Regions from separate parts of the Homo sapiens genome. Here all the other regions are linked to region 1. The links are contacts of gene promoters, found by promoter capture Hi-C in human tissues and cell types (Jung and others, 2019). All regions are on one chromosome and are shown on one strand. The core of a region is centred on a gene start or on the middle of the fragment in contact, and the rest is flanking DNA. Distances in the headings are between cores, read along the strand shown.

Region 1 (5,057 bases), core at 1,009-3,508:
GCAGCCAGAAAGGACTGAATACATGGTGTTCTTCAATCCCATCAAACTGCTGTGCCCTGCAGATGATCCCTGAGTCCAGGTGTTGGTGGGTTGAGGACAAGGCTGAGGGAACAGAGGTGGGAAGAGTGGCCCAGGGCCAGGAGAATGCAGAGTTCAGAGTGCATGACCTGCATCTAACTCTAGATGCTCCAGGGGTCTGAGACCATCTCCAGCAGGGTCTGGAAGGCCCAGTCATTCCCCAGCACGCACAGTCACCACTGGATACTATCTTGCTCTGTGAGTGATGCAAAGGTCCTGGGTCAGTGAAGCCTGTGAAAGAAAGTTGGGACCAGAGTGTCTCTACGGTTGAGGGCTGGGCTTATTTGCTCTCTAAGTATAATTGTAAGAGCAAGTAGAAACACCTATCCTCTCTGAGCTTAAAAGGATCAAAAAGCTCTGACAGTGTCAGTGGTAGGGCTAGTTCAGGGACTGCAGTAGTGCTGGTGCCCACAGGTGGAACCTTCTCCTGCCCTGATTCCCAAGGACTGGTGCTCTCGGAGGGGTCTGGGAGGTATATTTCTCTTTCACAAATACGTGCACAACACATGAATGAGCTACTGGATGAGGGAATAAATGAATGAATGAGTGAAAAAAGCTTCCTTTCTCCTCTCCAGGAGTCAGCAGTCACTGGTTAGTTCCCCACTGCCCACCAGCCTGTGCAGAGGAGGGAGGAGCAACAGGTCATAGATGTGGTTGCAGCTGTTACTGGACAGAGTGGTCAAGACATCCTGTGTCTGCAGAGGCCCTCCCCAGCCCTCACCTGGGCAGTGGAGCTGTTGGCCAGAGAGGCAGTGGGAAGAAGGGTGGGGCTCCCAGAGTCGACCCTGCGGGCTGAAACTGGTGCAGCCTGCACCTCACCAGGCAGAGAATGGATGTGGGGCAGCTTGACACCGAGCAGGGGCTCATCTGAGCCTCAGGGGTGGTTGCTCTATCAAAGTGTTTGCAAGTAAACAGTCCCAGTGCACACCCAGCTGCTCAGTGCCACCTCGTGCACCCAGGGACACTTCAGCCTTGATCACAGGCCTGCACAGGTTCCAGGGGAGGAGACACTCCAGCTTTTTGAGGGAGGGTGAGCATGTGGGATCAGAGACTTTAAGTCCAAATTTCCCCTTAATTTTTTTTTAAATCTTGCAGGTAGTATGCAAACATACATTTAATGTATTATTTTTATTCTCATTTTTTTTTTGAGGCAGGGTCTCCCTCTGTTGGCCAGGCTGGAGGGCAGTGGTGAGATCTTGGCTTGCTGCAGCCTCAACTCAACCTCCCAAGCTCAAGTGATTTTCCCACCTCAGCCTCCCAAGTAGTTGGGACTGCAGGTGCCTGTCCGCCATGACCAGCTAATTTTTAAATTTTTTTTGTAGAGATGGGGTTTTGCCATGTTGCTCAGGCTAGACTCGAACTCCTGAGCTCAAGTGATCCTCCCACCTTGGCCTCCCAAAGTGCTGGGATTATAGGTGTGAGACACTGCATCCGGCTCCCAAATTTCCCCTTTTTATAAGGACACCAGTTGTACTGACCGGGGCCCCACCTCTATGACCTCATCTAACCTTCATTAACTCCTTAAAGGCCCTATCTCCAAATACAGGCACACTGGGGGTTAGGGCTTCAACCTATGGATTTGGGGGATGCAATTCAGTCTATCACAGTGCCAAGCTGCACCTGCTCGGTGAGCCAGAACAGGGGTGGGGAAGGCACCAGGCCCTGGTGCTTCTTTCCCATGCCTGAGTCACTCTACTTGGTTCTAGTAGGGAGAGGAGCATGGGCCGAAGGCAGTGCTGCAACATGGAAGGGGCAGAACATCCCAACCCGCTCTGGGCCCCCAGTGTCTTCTGCTGTACAAAGCAGGTGTTTTCACCCCCCGAGGATGTGTCCTCCCTTCCTGGCTCACCAAGCATTTAAATGTAGACAGAAAATTTATTTATCTGGGGTGCGGTTTCCTCAGGGGGAAGTTGAGGTCACGACCCCTGAGGTACCTTAACCCAAAGGCCTCCAGGGCACTGGCCCCAGAGTCTCCAGCAGGTGCTTCCTCCCTGAATGCTTCCATATGGCAAGATCAGAGCCACAAATGCTGCCCCGACGCTGTTCCGGTAACCGACGTTGCAGACCCAAGAAAGTCTGGGATGGTAGTGGCCAGGAACGGGGTGTGCCACGGCCCCACCTCTCAGAGCAGGGAGGAGGATGCTGGGCCAGCCCTTGGGGACCCCAGGCACCGTGGCCACAGGAGTCAGAGCTCTGCATGTCTGCACCATGTCCTGGGCTCCTGTCCTGCTCATGCTGTTTGTCTACTGCACAGGTGAGGGAACCCCCAGATCCCAAAGACTCCTGCCCCTTCCTTCATCCTGCCCTGCCCCCACGGCCCACATGCATCTGTGTCACCAGGTTGTGGTCCTCAGCCGGTGCTGCATCAGCCGCCGGCCATGTCCTCGGCCCTTGGAACCACAATCCGCCTCACCTGCACCCTGAGGAACGACCATGACATCGGTGTGTACAGCGTCTACTGGTACCAGCAGAGGCCGGGCCACCCTCCCAGGTTCCTGCTGAGATATTTCTCACAATCAGACAAGAGCCAGGGCCCCCAGGTCCCCCCTCGCTTCTCTGGATCCAAAGATGTGGCCAGGAACAGGGGGTATTTGAGCATCTCTGAGCTGCAGCCTGAGGACGAGGCTATGTATTACTGTGCTATGGGGGCCCGCAGCTCGGAGAAGGAGGAGAGGGAGAGGGAGTGGGAGGAAGAAATGGAACCCACTGCAGCCAGGACACGTGTCCCTTGAACTGAAGACAGCAGAGGCACGCATCCCCTTGGAGAGACTGTCATGGAAGAGGGTGGAGTCGCCGCCCGAAGCGCCGAGGAGGCTGAGCCACTCAGCATCTCCTGGTCCTGCAGTGTTGCTGTAAATCCCCATTGGAGACTGCATTAGGGAATTAAAGCTGCTTGTCACTTTTTGCTGAGTTTGGTCTGACTGTTGTGCGACTTCGTAGTACCAGCCTTGGGCAAAGGCCCGGGGCCCCGGGAGACTGGCAGATCACTGTGGTGAGCACTCACCTGAGTCCTTACTTTTGTGGGCCATGGGAGGCAAGGGGTTGACCGAAGCACCCTGGAGGGGCATCCATGCCCAGGACAGGACCCTCTGGTGTCATCTGATTCTGCCCAGCGGTTACAGGGCAAACAAGCTTAGAAAGCACCTGGTCTGGGCCTCCAGGGAGAACAGGAGCCAGGTAATAGGCCTAGAGTGGGTTCTCCACCTTGGTCCTATCGACGTTTTGGGCTGGACAGTTCTTGGTTGTGGGGCTGTCCTGCGGATTGTTGAATGGTGAGTGGTTATCTGTGGCCTCTACCCACCAGATGCCCCTTCCCAGTTGTGACAAACAAAAATGTCTCCAGACATTGCCAAATGTCCCCAGGTGGTAAACTCACACTGATTGTGAACCACTGGTCTAGATGAGCAAGTAAATGCATTTACTTATTTGTACAAGAGAGTGGCAGGTGTCGGCAAACATGTTCTTTTTTTCCTTTTTTTAGGGATAAAGTCTTGCTCTGTGGTCCAGGCTGGAGTGCAGTGGTGCAATCATAGCTCACCGCAGCTTCAAACTCCCAGGCTCAAGTGATTGTCCTGTCTCAGCCTCCTGAGCAGCTGAGACTACAGGCGTGCATCACCATGCTTGGCTATTTATTTAGTTTTATTTTTGGAGAGATGAATGTCTCACTATGTTGCTCAAGCTGATCTCAAACTCCTGAGCTCGAGTGATCCCCCTGCTTGGGCCTCCTAAAGTGCTGGGATTAGAGGCGTGAGCCACTGCACCCAGCCCATTTTCTATAAAGAGCCAGGTGGTAAATATTTTTGGCTTTGTGGGCTATGCGATCTCTGTCACAACTGTTCAATTCTGTCCTAGTAGCAAGAAAGCAGCCACAGACAAACATGTCAACAAAGAGGCATGGCTGTGTTCTTATAAAGCTGTATTTACAGAAACAGATGGGGCTACACTGGGCTGGGTATGGCGCCCAGGCTGTAGTTTGCTGAGCCCTGCTCGGGAGCACTCCAGCTCCTGTCTCCAGGTTTTAAGCAAGCCATGCTTGGTGGGATAATCAGAGTCCCCCCTCAACTTATCTTGCCTGTGACCCCAGGCAGAAGCCTCTGGACCCATGGAGATACCTAGAGGCATGAAGGACGTGGTCTCACTGAGACTGTGTTGGACTGTCTGGGTGAAGTAGCAATGGGGAGCTCCCTGCAGCCCCGGCCCACAGCAAGGCCCCCTGAGCCCGTGGGTGGTGGGTCTGAGTGTGCCTTGCGGAGAGGGACTCTCTACATTGGGTGTTCACACAACCTGTAGACATGCCTCACTCAGAGAGGTGCCGGGCAAACCATCTCCCTTGTAACCCCAACTTGCCTGGGAACGTGCATTCACCCCAGCTAAAAAGATCCTGAGGCATCTCCCCAGAGAGGTGGACACATGTCAGTATCAGCGTTCCATGTGTGGTCATGAGTCCCTCTCTTGTTAAACAGTGGTCTCCAGCACTTTGGGAGGCCGAGGCGGGTGGATCACCTGAGGTCAGGAGTTAGAGACCAGCCTACCCAACATGGTGAAATCTCATCTCTACTAAAAATACAAAAATTAGCTGGGTGTGTTGGCACATGCCCGTAATCCCAGCTACTTGGGAGGCTGAGGCAGGAGAATTGCTTGAACCCAGGAGGCAGAGGTTGCAGTGAGCCGAGATCATGCCACTGCACTCCAGCCTGGGTGACAGAGCGAGACTCCATCTCACAAAAAAAAAAAAAAAAAAAAAAAGAGACAGTGATCTCAGCTTATGCCATACTCTATGCACTGGGTTCTTCCTGCATCAGGCTTTTACCCCTGGGCCAGGCCCACATTTTAAAACATTATTATTTACTTGTTTATTATTTTATTTTAGAGATAGGATCTTGCTATGCTGCCCAGGCTGGACTGCTGTGGCTATTCACAGGTTCAATTCATGATGCTCTACAGCCTTGAACTCCTGGGCTCCAGCGATCCTCCTGTCT
Region 2 (5,057 bases), core at 1,250-3,749, 56 kb after region 1:
GGAGAGGCGGACAGCGGCGGCGCGGCGGAGAGGCGGACAGCGGCGGAGAGGCGCACAGCGGCGGCGCAGGCGCGGAGAGGCGCACAGCGGCGGCGCAGGCGCGGAGAGGGGCACAGCGGCGGCGCAGGCGCGGAGAGGCGCACAGCGCGGCACAGCGAGGCGCCGGCCCAGACTCCACTCCCCAGCTGTGAAAGGGTAAGAACTGAGGGTGGCTGAGACTCGGGGTTGTTCAGGGCGGGGTGGGCTCTGGACCCAGCAGGCCCGGCACCCAGGTCAGGGCTCCAGGGGAGGCCAGGTGGGCGAAGGCCAAGAAGGGGCCGGGGCTGGTCAGGAAGGGCTCCTGGTAACCAGAGCACTTTGCGTGAGCCAGCGTGGGAGGAAGGTGGGCTGGATGAGCTAGGGAGGCGCCGGGAGGGGCCTTGGCAGAGGCGACCCCCTCCGTCAGCCCCCAGGCCACTGAACCCTGGGTAGCGAGAACCGACAGGGGAGGCTGCATACAGAGGAGTGGAGGCTCCCCGGCTTTGGGGGCTCTGAGTAGAAGCATCTAGGGGGTCCCTCAAGAGGCCCCCAAACGCCTCCCCATGGTGAGAAAAGAAAGCGCAGAGAGGGGCACGGCTGTGATTTCTTTTATTGCCCCAAATGTACTTCATCTTGGTAGATTTCTATTGGCTTTAAAAATGTGTGTGTTTTGCTGTTGGGGAGTGGGGTGTTATACGGATGTCAGATTTTGCTGGTTGACTGTTCAGATCTTTTGTAAATCCTTGCTCCTTTTCTGCCTAGTTTCACTCTGTCACTTACATTAGAGTGCGGTGGCACGAACATGACTCACTGCAGCCTTGACTTCCTAGGGTCAAGTACTTCCCCTGGCTTAACCTCCTGAGTAGCTGGTACTATAGGTGTGTGCCGCCACACCTGGCTAAATTTAAAATTTTTTGGAGAGATGAGGCCTTGCTATGTTGCCCAGGCTCGAACTCCTGGCCTCGAGCTATCCTTTGTCTTTGCCTCCCAGAGTTCTGGGATTACAGGCATGAGCCACTGTGCCCGGCCTCTGCCTAGTTTTAACAGTTGCTAAGAGGAGGATGTTGAAGTAGATGTCTTCTTGGTGGGTTAATCCTTTTGTCATTAAGCAGTTGTTATGGTCACTTCCTTTTCACCCCATTGGTGAAGGAGGGGTCCCTGCCCTAAAGTGTAGGAGATGGCTGAACACGACACCTGGCGTGGATGGATGAGATTGACAGCAGTGTTTTAGTCACATATACCCACAGCTCAGAGGAGGACACTGCATGCCACACAGGGTCAGATGGGCACCGCACTCTGTAGCGGAGTGAGGGCTGTGGGCTGAGGAAGCAGGCAGGCTTGATAGTAACAAGAGCACACAATGACCAATGGTTCCCGAGGGGGAATGCAGTTGGCTTGTTTGAATAAATTCATGGGCTGGCAGACAGGTGAAGTGAAGCTTCTTAGGCTGAGGTGCAACTGTTTGGCTGATAAAAGAACTAGCCAGGTGGGGAGCCTTTCCTGTTGGGTGGCAGGGTAGGGGGTGTCTGGTAGAAACAGGAAAACCCACGGCTAGGCCTTTGGGGCCCTGTGAGGCTCAAAGATGTCAAGGCAGCATAGGAAATTTTAGATCTTAAAATTCAGCGAAGACCCTCTCCAGCTCTGGTAAATTATTTTGCTTGAAGTCTACTTCATGAGATATTAATATATTCACTCCTGCTTCCTTAAAAAATTAATGATTTCACAGGATATCTTTCTCCATTCTTTTACTTTCAACCTACTTAGGTCCTTAAGTGAGTTTGAAGTTTCTTATGAACAGTATTTAGTTGGGCCATGTGTTTATTATAGGCTCTCCATCAATCTGTCTTTTGGTTTATTTAGACCATTTACATTTAAGGTGCTTATAGTTACATAATTGCTTATGTCTGATGTTTTTATTATTTGCTTTTTCGTTTCCTTTTTCTTTCCCTCCATCTTGATCTATTTCTGTATAATGTTGTTGCTCGTATCTCTTTGTATAGTCTTAAAGTGTTTGCTCTGGATGTTACAATATGTGTATTGTAATACAGTAGTCTACTGGTACCAGTATTTACCACTTCAAAGTGTGGAAACCTGCCTTGCATTTATGTCTCTTTACCTTTTCCACTTGTATAAATCACTGGCTTGAGTATTAGGTGGTGGTATAGTTTTTGTTTCAGTCGTCAAATGTGATTTTAAGAACTGTGGATTGTCTCGCGTATGTATCCACATTTCTGGTCTTTCCTTTGTCCCTCCTCCTATAGTCCCATATTCATCCCTTCTGCATAAGAACTTTCTGTAGCCATTTTTTTGTTTTGATTTTTTTGTTTTAATTTTTTGTATTGTGGAAATGACAGAACATATTTCTGTAGCCACTTTTTAGCATTTCTAAATTGACCAGTGACAAATTCCTATATTCTCTTCCTCTGAGAATGTCTTTATTTCTCTCTTCATTTCTGAAGGGTAGTTTCATGGGATATAGAATTTGCAGCGAACAGTTTTTTTGTTTGGTTGGTTTTTTTGTTTGGTTGTTTTTTTTTTAAACACTTGAAAATGTTGTGCCACTTCCTTCTGGCCTCCATGGCATTTGAGTTGGCGTGTCCCTACAGGCATTCTGCCATTTTTGGTCTTTGTTTTTAGTTTTGAAAGTTTAATTGGTGTTGCTTTCTTTTGGTATACTTTGAGGTTTGCTCAGCTTCTTGAATCTGTAAGTTTATATCTTTCACCAAATGTGGGAAGCCTCAGGAATTAGTTATTTGCATGCTTTCACAGCTCTGGTCTCCTATGGGACTCAGATAACATAAATGCGGGGTTATCGTCCCACAGGTCCGTGCAGCTCTGTTCATTTGTTTTCAGGTTATTTTCTCTCTCTTGTTTAGACTGGGTGAATTCTGTTGATCAGGTTTCAGCTTCTCTGATTCTCTCCTCTGTCGTCTCCACTTTTACTCAATAGGGCCCATCCAGTTAGTTTTTTTAAAATTTCTGTTACTGGATTTTATATTTCTGTAATTTCCATTTGATTCTTCAGTTTCTTTGCTGATGTTTTCAGTTCTTTGATTGTTGCCATAGGATTTGTAGTTGCTTGTTGAAGCATTTTTATACTGACTGTTATAAGTGATGAGTCAGATGGTTCCAACATCTGCCTATGTAATTTTTTTATTTTTGCAGGCAGTCCTCCTGTTTAGGTTTAGTCTGTAGGTCTTGGTCTACTTTGTGGGCTGTGATTCCAATGGCAATTTAATTTCAGAGCCTTCATGGTGTTATTTTGGTCTCTTTGGCTTATATGTATCACTGGGATTCTCCCACCAGTCCCTGTTGTTGCCCACCTGAGGGAACAGGGGAGCCGCCCTAGGCTGGGCCACCTGCTGCAGCTAGGTGGGTGGGGAATGGTGGTTGTCTTGGTGTGTGGAGCTGGTTTTCTTGTTGTGGGGAAGATCTCCTTTGATCTGCGGGGACTGAGTCTGCCTGGGTTGCCTTCTATTGCTACGTTGGGAGTTGGGAAACTCTGGGCCTGGGTCACCTTCCTATTGGATGAGGTCCAGGGAGACACCTGGCCACTATGCATTCCCTAGTCCTAGAGTCCCTCAGCAGCCTTTTTCTGTCCACCTTTTGGAATTCTCCATTGATCCTCTCCTGTCTATTATTTCTAGAGTTTGGGTTACATTTCTTAGGAGGGTATAATGTGTTATCTTCTCTAGACCAGAAATCCTTAGTGGTGGTTTCGGGTTGTAACTGTGCTAAAGGGAGAATTGGCGTATTTGTGATGTCGGGTCTTTCTTTTCAAATGAGGACATATCATTATTCAGTATATAATATTTACAACACCTACTTCCTTGGGTTGAAGAATGTGGTTAAGGCAAGGAAAGTACTTAACACAGTGCCTGGTGTGGAGAGCACTTACGAGTGTTGGTAGTGATGCTATTCCTTTTGTCCTTTGGTAGCCTATTAAAGCTTTTCTTCTTTTTTAAAAAAATAAAGTTCCGGTGCACTTCTTGTTAGGTTTATTCCTATTTTATCCTTTTTTGCTTTTATTGCAAATAGGAGCTTCCTATCTTTTATAACGTCTACCTGGTTCTTTGGCCCTTACGTGAAAATGTTTTAATAGCCTTCTAAACATTGTTCTCTCAAATGAGTTTTAATTTGCCTCTTTCTTTTGTTTTCCTTTTTTTGAGACAGGGTCTCACTCTGTCACCCAGGCTGGAGTTCAGTGACGCAATTATGGCTCACTGCAACCTCTGCCTCCTGGGCCCCCAAAGTGCTGGGTTTACAGGTGTGGGCCACTGCACCCAGCCTTACTTGTCTGTTTCTTTTAAGAGTGGGAACTATAATTGAGCCCAGAGCTCCAAAAACAAATGAAGAAATGAATGAGTGAATAAGCTCTTCCCATGGGTTTGGTGTGGTTTGGGACTCTACTCTTAATCTAAATGCTATGTTTTATATAATCTAAAATTTCCCCTAGGTGTGTTACACGATTGTGTTGTGTTGAACTTACATTGAGACTCCTTTTCACATGTGCTGGTTATCAGCGTGGGACTTTTCCATTCACTCTTTGAATTATTCGTTTGGGGGACACAGATAGACCTCTGTGTCTTTCATAAAGAGTGTCCATTGGCCGGTTGCAGTGTCTCATGCCTGTAATCCCAGCACTTTGGGAGGCTGAGGAGGGCAGATCACGAGGTCAGGAGTTCGAGACCAGCCTGGCCAATATGGTGAAATCCCATCTCTACTAAAAATACAAAAATTAGCCAGGCCTGGTGGCGGGTGCCTATAATCCCAGCTGCTCGGGAGACTGAGGCAGTAGAATTGCTTGAACCTGGGAGGCAGAGGTTGCAGTGAGCTGAGATCGTGCCACTGCACTCCAGCTTGAGTGACAGAGTGAGACTCCGTCTCCAAAAAAAAAAAAAACAAAAACAAAAGAGTGTCCATTATCTATACTAGAAAAATTGAGATTGGGATTTTGACATGAAGTGCGGAAATGTGGATTGGGTCCATTTAGTTTACCTAAACAGATGATGAAATACTAACTGTTTTACGAAGCATTC
Region 3 (5,057 bases), core at 972-3,471, 41 kb before region 1:
CCTGTCTGCATCCCCGGGAGCAACAGCCAGACTCCCCTGCACCCTGAGCAGTGACCTCAGTGTTGGTGGTAAAAACATGTTCTGGTACCAGCAGAAGCTAGGGAGCTCTCCCAGGTTATTCCTGTATCACTACTCAGACTCAGACAAGCAGCTGGGACCTGGGGTCCCCAGTCGAGTCTCTGGCTCCAAGGAGACCTCAAGTAACACAGCGTTTTTGCTCATCTCTGGGCTCCAGCCTGAGGACGAGGCCGATTATTACTGCCAGGTGTACGAAAGTAGTGCTAATCACAGTGAGACAGATGAGGAAGTCGGACAAAAACCAAGGTTTTAAGCTTGTCATTTTTACTGAACTGGTTAAGAACTTCAGTGGTTAATAAAATCACATTAAATACTGGATTGTTGTTAAAAATGGTGGCACATTATAACTCTCTCCCATTTTTTTCACATAATGCCCATAGTGACTCTAAGCAGCTAAAATCAAAACACAAAAACTTATACCAATACTAAGAAATACTAACATTACTAACCAATTTCCACTAGTAAAAGAGTTGTGAAACAGCTGAAATACATCCAGATGGCATAATACATAATACCACTATATACAAGAGTTGTATAAAATTATGTATCATGTATATATAAAATTATGTATCATGTATATGTATAATATATGAAATAAAATGTCAGCAGACATTACCGTCTTCCCACCAGTAGCCAGCAATTCTGCCCTGCCTCTAGAATAAATGGTTACCATGGGTTGAATAGGTGAACAGCCCTGGCAGCTCTGCAGGATGACTCTCACTGTTTGTTATTGTTTTATTTTTAAGATTGCTTTTCTTTCCTTTTTTTTTTTGAGGCAGAGTCTTGCTGTCAGCGAGGCTGGAGTGCAGTGCAGTGAGCTGGGCTCACTGCAACCTAAGCCTCCCTGGTTCAAACGATTCTCCTGCCTCAGCCTCCTGAGTAGCTGGGATACAGGCGTGCGCCACCATGCCTGGCTAAATTTTTTGTATTTTTTAGTAGAGACGGGGTTTCACCATGTTGGTCAGGCTGGTCTGGAACTCCTGACTTCGGGATCCGCCGTCCTCGGCCTCCCAAAGTGCTGGGATTACAGGCGTGAACCACCGTGCCCGACCTCTTTTTTTTTTTTTTTTTTTTTTGGTTTTGTTAGTTTAGTTTTGTTTTATCTCTTTAACTTGACAGAGATGATCCATGTGGATCTCTGCATGGGTCTGGGAGCTGCAAGGCTCCTGGTGCATGGCCCAGTCCCGCCTGCCTTGGCAGGGCTCCTCCACCTGGCTCCTGGAGGAGCTGCTGCGCCCGACTACCCTGCATGGAGCCCGCGGCTTAGCGGCAGCTCGGGAGGGGCCTGATAGAAACTTCCCCCTGAGCAAGCAGCGCCAAACCCAGGCCGCCACCCAGGATGGAGGCTGCATCACCCCCGGGGAGCCCGGATCCTCGCCAGGGTCCACCAGGAGAAGAGCACATGGCGGAGATGAGCCTGCGGGGCTGGGAGAGAGAGAAGACACGGCGAAGATGCAGGTGAAGACGCTGCACTAAGGCCCCACCCAGAGGCTGAGGTTCCCCGACCAGACCAGCAGCAGCGAGGCTGCCCAGAGCGGCGCCAGCAAGGTGGTTCTCTCCAGGTCGGATCACAGGAGAAGCTAGCCTTGCACCTGGCCCAGGCGAGAAGCAGGACATGGGCTTACGCAGAAGAATCAGCACCGATTCCACATCATTCCCCATGGCAACGGCCTCTACGGTGCTGTCAGCAAGACCCAGTGCTAGACCCGAGCCTGCACCAGGAGCTGCGGAGCGGAGGGTGCGCCCCATCCCGATCGTCTCCACCACTTTAGCTCCCTGGGTGAGGGTGACACGGGGAAGCTTATTATCGCGGCTGCCCAAAACGGGGCGTGGCTGGGTACCCTGTGTACATAGGGTAGATGCTGAATGTGAATAGCACTGAACTACTAGAGGGAGGCTGGAGAGGCCCACAGTGTCTATCTACCATGATTCATTATTTGGGCCCAGAGGATTGCCTAAAGCCTAGTATTTGGCTCAGTTGGCTCAGTAACGGGCACTAGGATGCAGTATTTGATCACTCCTATCCTAACCAAGTACGACAACTGGTGCAAACAGACTCAAAAGCAAAAGGCAACGCAATGAATAACTTGCTCACTCTGGGGCCACATATTCTGAATAAAATGCCTACCCTTGAAATGTCTGAAAACCTTACACCCTGGGAAAATTGCATACAGAACTTGTGCTTGGAGAATGACATGAACTCTAATCAGGGTAATAACACTTGTAAAGTTCCTAACAGCTTTTCTTTCCTTTTTTTTTTTTTTTTTTTTTTTGAGATGGAGTTTCGCAGTGTTGCCCAGGCTGGAGTGCAGTGGCGCGACCTCGGCTCACTGCAAGCTCCGCCTCCTGGGTTCACGCCATTCCCCTGCCTCAGCCTCCCGAGTAGCTGGGACCACGGGTGCCCACCACCACGCCCGGCTAATTTTTTGTATTTTTAGTAGAGACGGGGTTTCACGGTGTTAGCCAGGATGGTCTCAATCTCCTGACCTCGTGATCCACCCGCCTCGGCCTCCTACAGCGCTGGGATTACAGGCGTGAGCCACCGCAGCTGGCACTTCCTAATAGCTTTTCTGTGAGTGTAACGCCATAATCATCTTTTAAAATGTTTTCTCGGAACTAAAAGTTGCTGGGCGCCTAAATGATGTTGCATGATAGTTTTGGGTGATTTTACTGCATCTGTAATTTTCTGTTTAAGTGAGCACTGCTTAATTTGAAAGCTAATTTCTCACAGTGTAAATCTGTTCATTCCTGGTAGTCTATTTTCTACAAAAGTGTATTTTTACACAACATTAAAAAATGGTGTACCTTCATCTATGACAGTACATTACTTTTGACAAGCAGCTTTCAGGCAGAAATTAAGAGAAGTGTTTTATATAAAATTTATTATTTTGAACAGAGTTTGTGATTTGGTAGTTACGCTGTTGAAATTTGAATTTTACAATTCTTAGAAACTTATATTGATGCATTCTTGTTACCAAATGATTGGCCCATTACATTTTGATACAAATAGATTTGTTGTTTTGGAACCATTATTTGTTTAGAAATGGTCAATCTTTTAGAGAGAAATACTTAACAAAGGATTGTGGGAAGTTTTTTTTTTTCTTCTTCTTTAACGGATTGTACCAGGTCTTACTTGAATGAAAGTCTGATGCTTGCTGATGGCAGAGTGACTAATCTGCACTAGATTGATGTTAGAGCAGAATGTTGGGTGATCTCAATTGTTTTTATTTATGTTTGTGATTTTGTTTTAAGGTAATCTTAACATGGTATAAGACTCTGTGACAAGCTAAACCTACTGCAATATAGCATGTTGGAGTCCCCTAAGAGTTTTAAAAGCTAATGGCATAAATGCCTGGAGCCAACCTCGGCAGTTATTTCATAGCAGAAGATACCGTCTTAATACTCCTTTTAAATTCTTTTAAAAGGCAAAATAGGATCATCCTATTTTATAATGTACAAATGTCTGCAGAGATTGTATGGTTTGTTGTGTTAATGTTTCCCACCTAAAATCTATCATATTGCCACTTTGCCTAATTGTAGTCACATTTATTAAGTAATGCAGTTTGTACTTTTTATTTTGTAACATTCTGTGATTTTTGTACAACATTGTATTTGTACAATACAGCAATTCCCAGTTGATTGAATGAATAAATAAAATGTAAAATCATACTTTATAAAAAGATCTATGTGGCTGATAGAATTCTGACATTCCCCTCCAAATGGAAAGTGATGTGTTTCTTTAAAGTAAAGGTAGAGGAGTCTTAAATATAGGTGTTCCTGCCCCTATTGAGAGGTTTTCAAAACATGCTCTTAATTTAACGTTTAAATATACCAGAGTCTTAGAATGTGAGAATAATGAAATTGGTTTGTTTTAATTTTGTGATAATATTAAATCTACTGGAAAGAATATTCTCCTTTGAAAAGATTCTCAGCTCAGTGATCATAGAACCTGTACTTGCGTTTAATTCAATGAGGAAAGACATAGAAATGCCACGTTAATATCCTCATTTAGGTGGTTTCTCCCTTCACTGATCAGCCTATGAATGTGTCAATGCAGTACTCCCCAGTTTAGGCTTAGGTACTTATTGAAAGGATGCTGCCTGAGCATTTTTAATAATTGCTATTTCAAGATCACATTTTGGCCGTGAGGCAGGCTGCCACTCACTTTAGGCTCTGCCTAGGCAGGAATGGGTCCTGGAAGACACATGTTCTCTCTCTCTCTCTCTCTCTTTCACACACACACACACACACACACACACACACACACGCACACACACACCCCTCTCTTCTCTCTGGGTACACATTATTCTGGACATCTTCAGTTTCCAGGATTCTCTATGTCTCCAGCTAGAAGTCAGGGCTTAGCCTGTGGTGATCCAGCCACCCTCAGGTTGAATCTCGATGAAGTCACAGGAACCACCAGTGGCATGGAGGGTAAGGGATCCTGCTATCAGGTTCAGCCAGGAAATGCTCTGGACACCTGCTGGTGGAAAAGTTTAATGCTGGGCAATCACAGGTCAGGTCCCTTCTTCCAGTCGGCAGTTCAGCCTCCCTGACTTTCTCTGGGTTCCAGTCAGTGCATGAGGATGATGGTGACATTTATTCAGGGGCAGCACAGCAGCCTCAGTCACCACCAACAGTCACTGTCATATGAGAAAATTAGATAGAAATTGGCCTTCCAACTCTTCTGTCAGATCCATCTTTGCCCTTTTTCTGCCTGCTTGAGTGAATACTACCAAGACCAGCTCAGGTTTTTGCTGATGCTATCACACGTGCTCCTAAAACCAGAGGGCTTAATGGTATTTTCTGTTTATCTTTACGGATTCAATGAAAAGACACCTTTTCTTACTGGTCTCCCAATGAAAACATAATCACTATGTCCACAGTAACAAAGATAGCCCTCGTTGTTGTCTGCTGGGATGAGAAGAGCAGCAGAAGTTTGGCAGGTATGGCCCTCATGGGCTTCACATGTCCCTACA

Evidence for each region. Contacts are between HindIII fragments. The study calls those that stand out against the background at their distance.
Region 2: a fragment that was not itself captured here is called in contact with the fragment with the promoter of VPREB1 in region 1 in 1 of the 25 tissues and cell types used here (bladder).
Region 3: a fragment that was not itself captured here is called in contact with the fragment with the promoter of VPREB1 in region 1 in 5 of the 25 tissues and cell types used here (dorsolateral prefrontal cortex, mesenchymal stem cells, mesendoderm cells and 2 more).

The regions. Positions count from the first base shown.
Region 1 is chr22:22,242,528-22,247,584 of GRCh38, forward strand. VPREB1 (V-set pre-B cell surrogate light chain 1) reads left to right here and starts at 2,259. Exons shown (of 2, transcript NM_007128.4): 1 at 2,259-2,332; 2 at 2,419-2,988. The coding sequence starts at 2,287. The coding sequence ends at 2,810. It also overlaps IGL. The HindIII fragment of the contact is 13,267 bases long and covers 1-5,057 here.
Region 2 is chr22:22,298,017-22,303,073 of GRCh38, forward strand. It overlaps LOC105372952 (a long non-coding RNA gene), which reads right to left and starts at 136. Exons shown (of 3, transcript XR_938055.3): 1 at 1-136. It also overlaps IGL and the pseudogene BMS1P20. RefSeq lists a silencer at 1-228. The HindIII fragment of the contact is 4,401 bases long and covers 300-4,700 here.
Region 3 is chr22:22,201,876-22,206,932 of GRCh38, forward strand. It overlaps IGL, IGLV11-55 and the pseudogene LOC100419915. Among named protein-coding and RNA genes, the nearest start is that of VPREB1, 40 kb to the right of the region's middle. The HindIII fragment of the contact is 6,097 bases long and covers 1-5,057 here.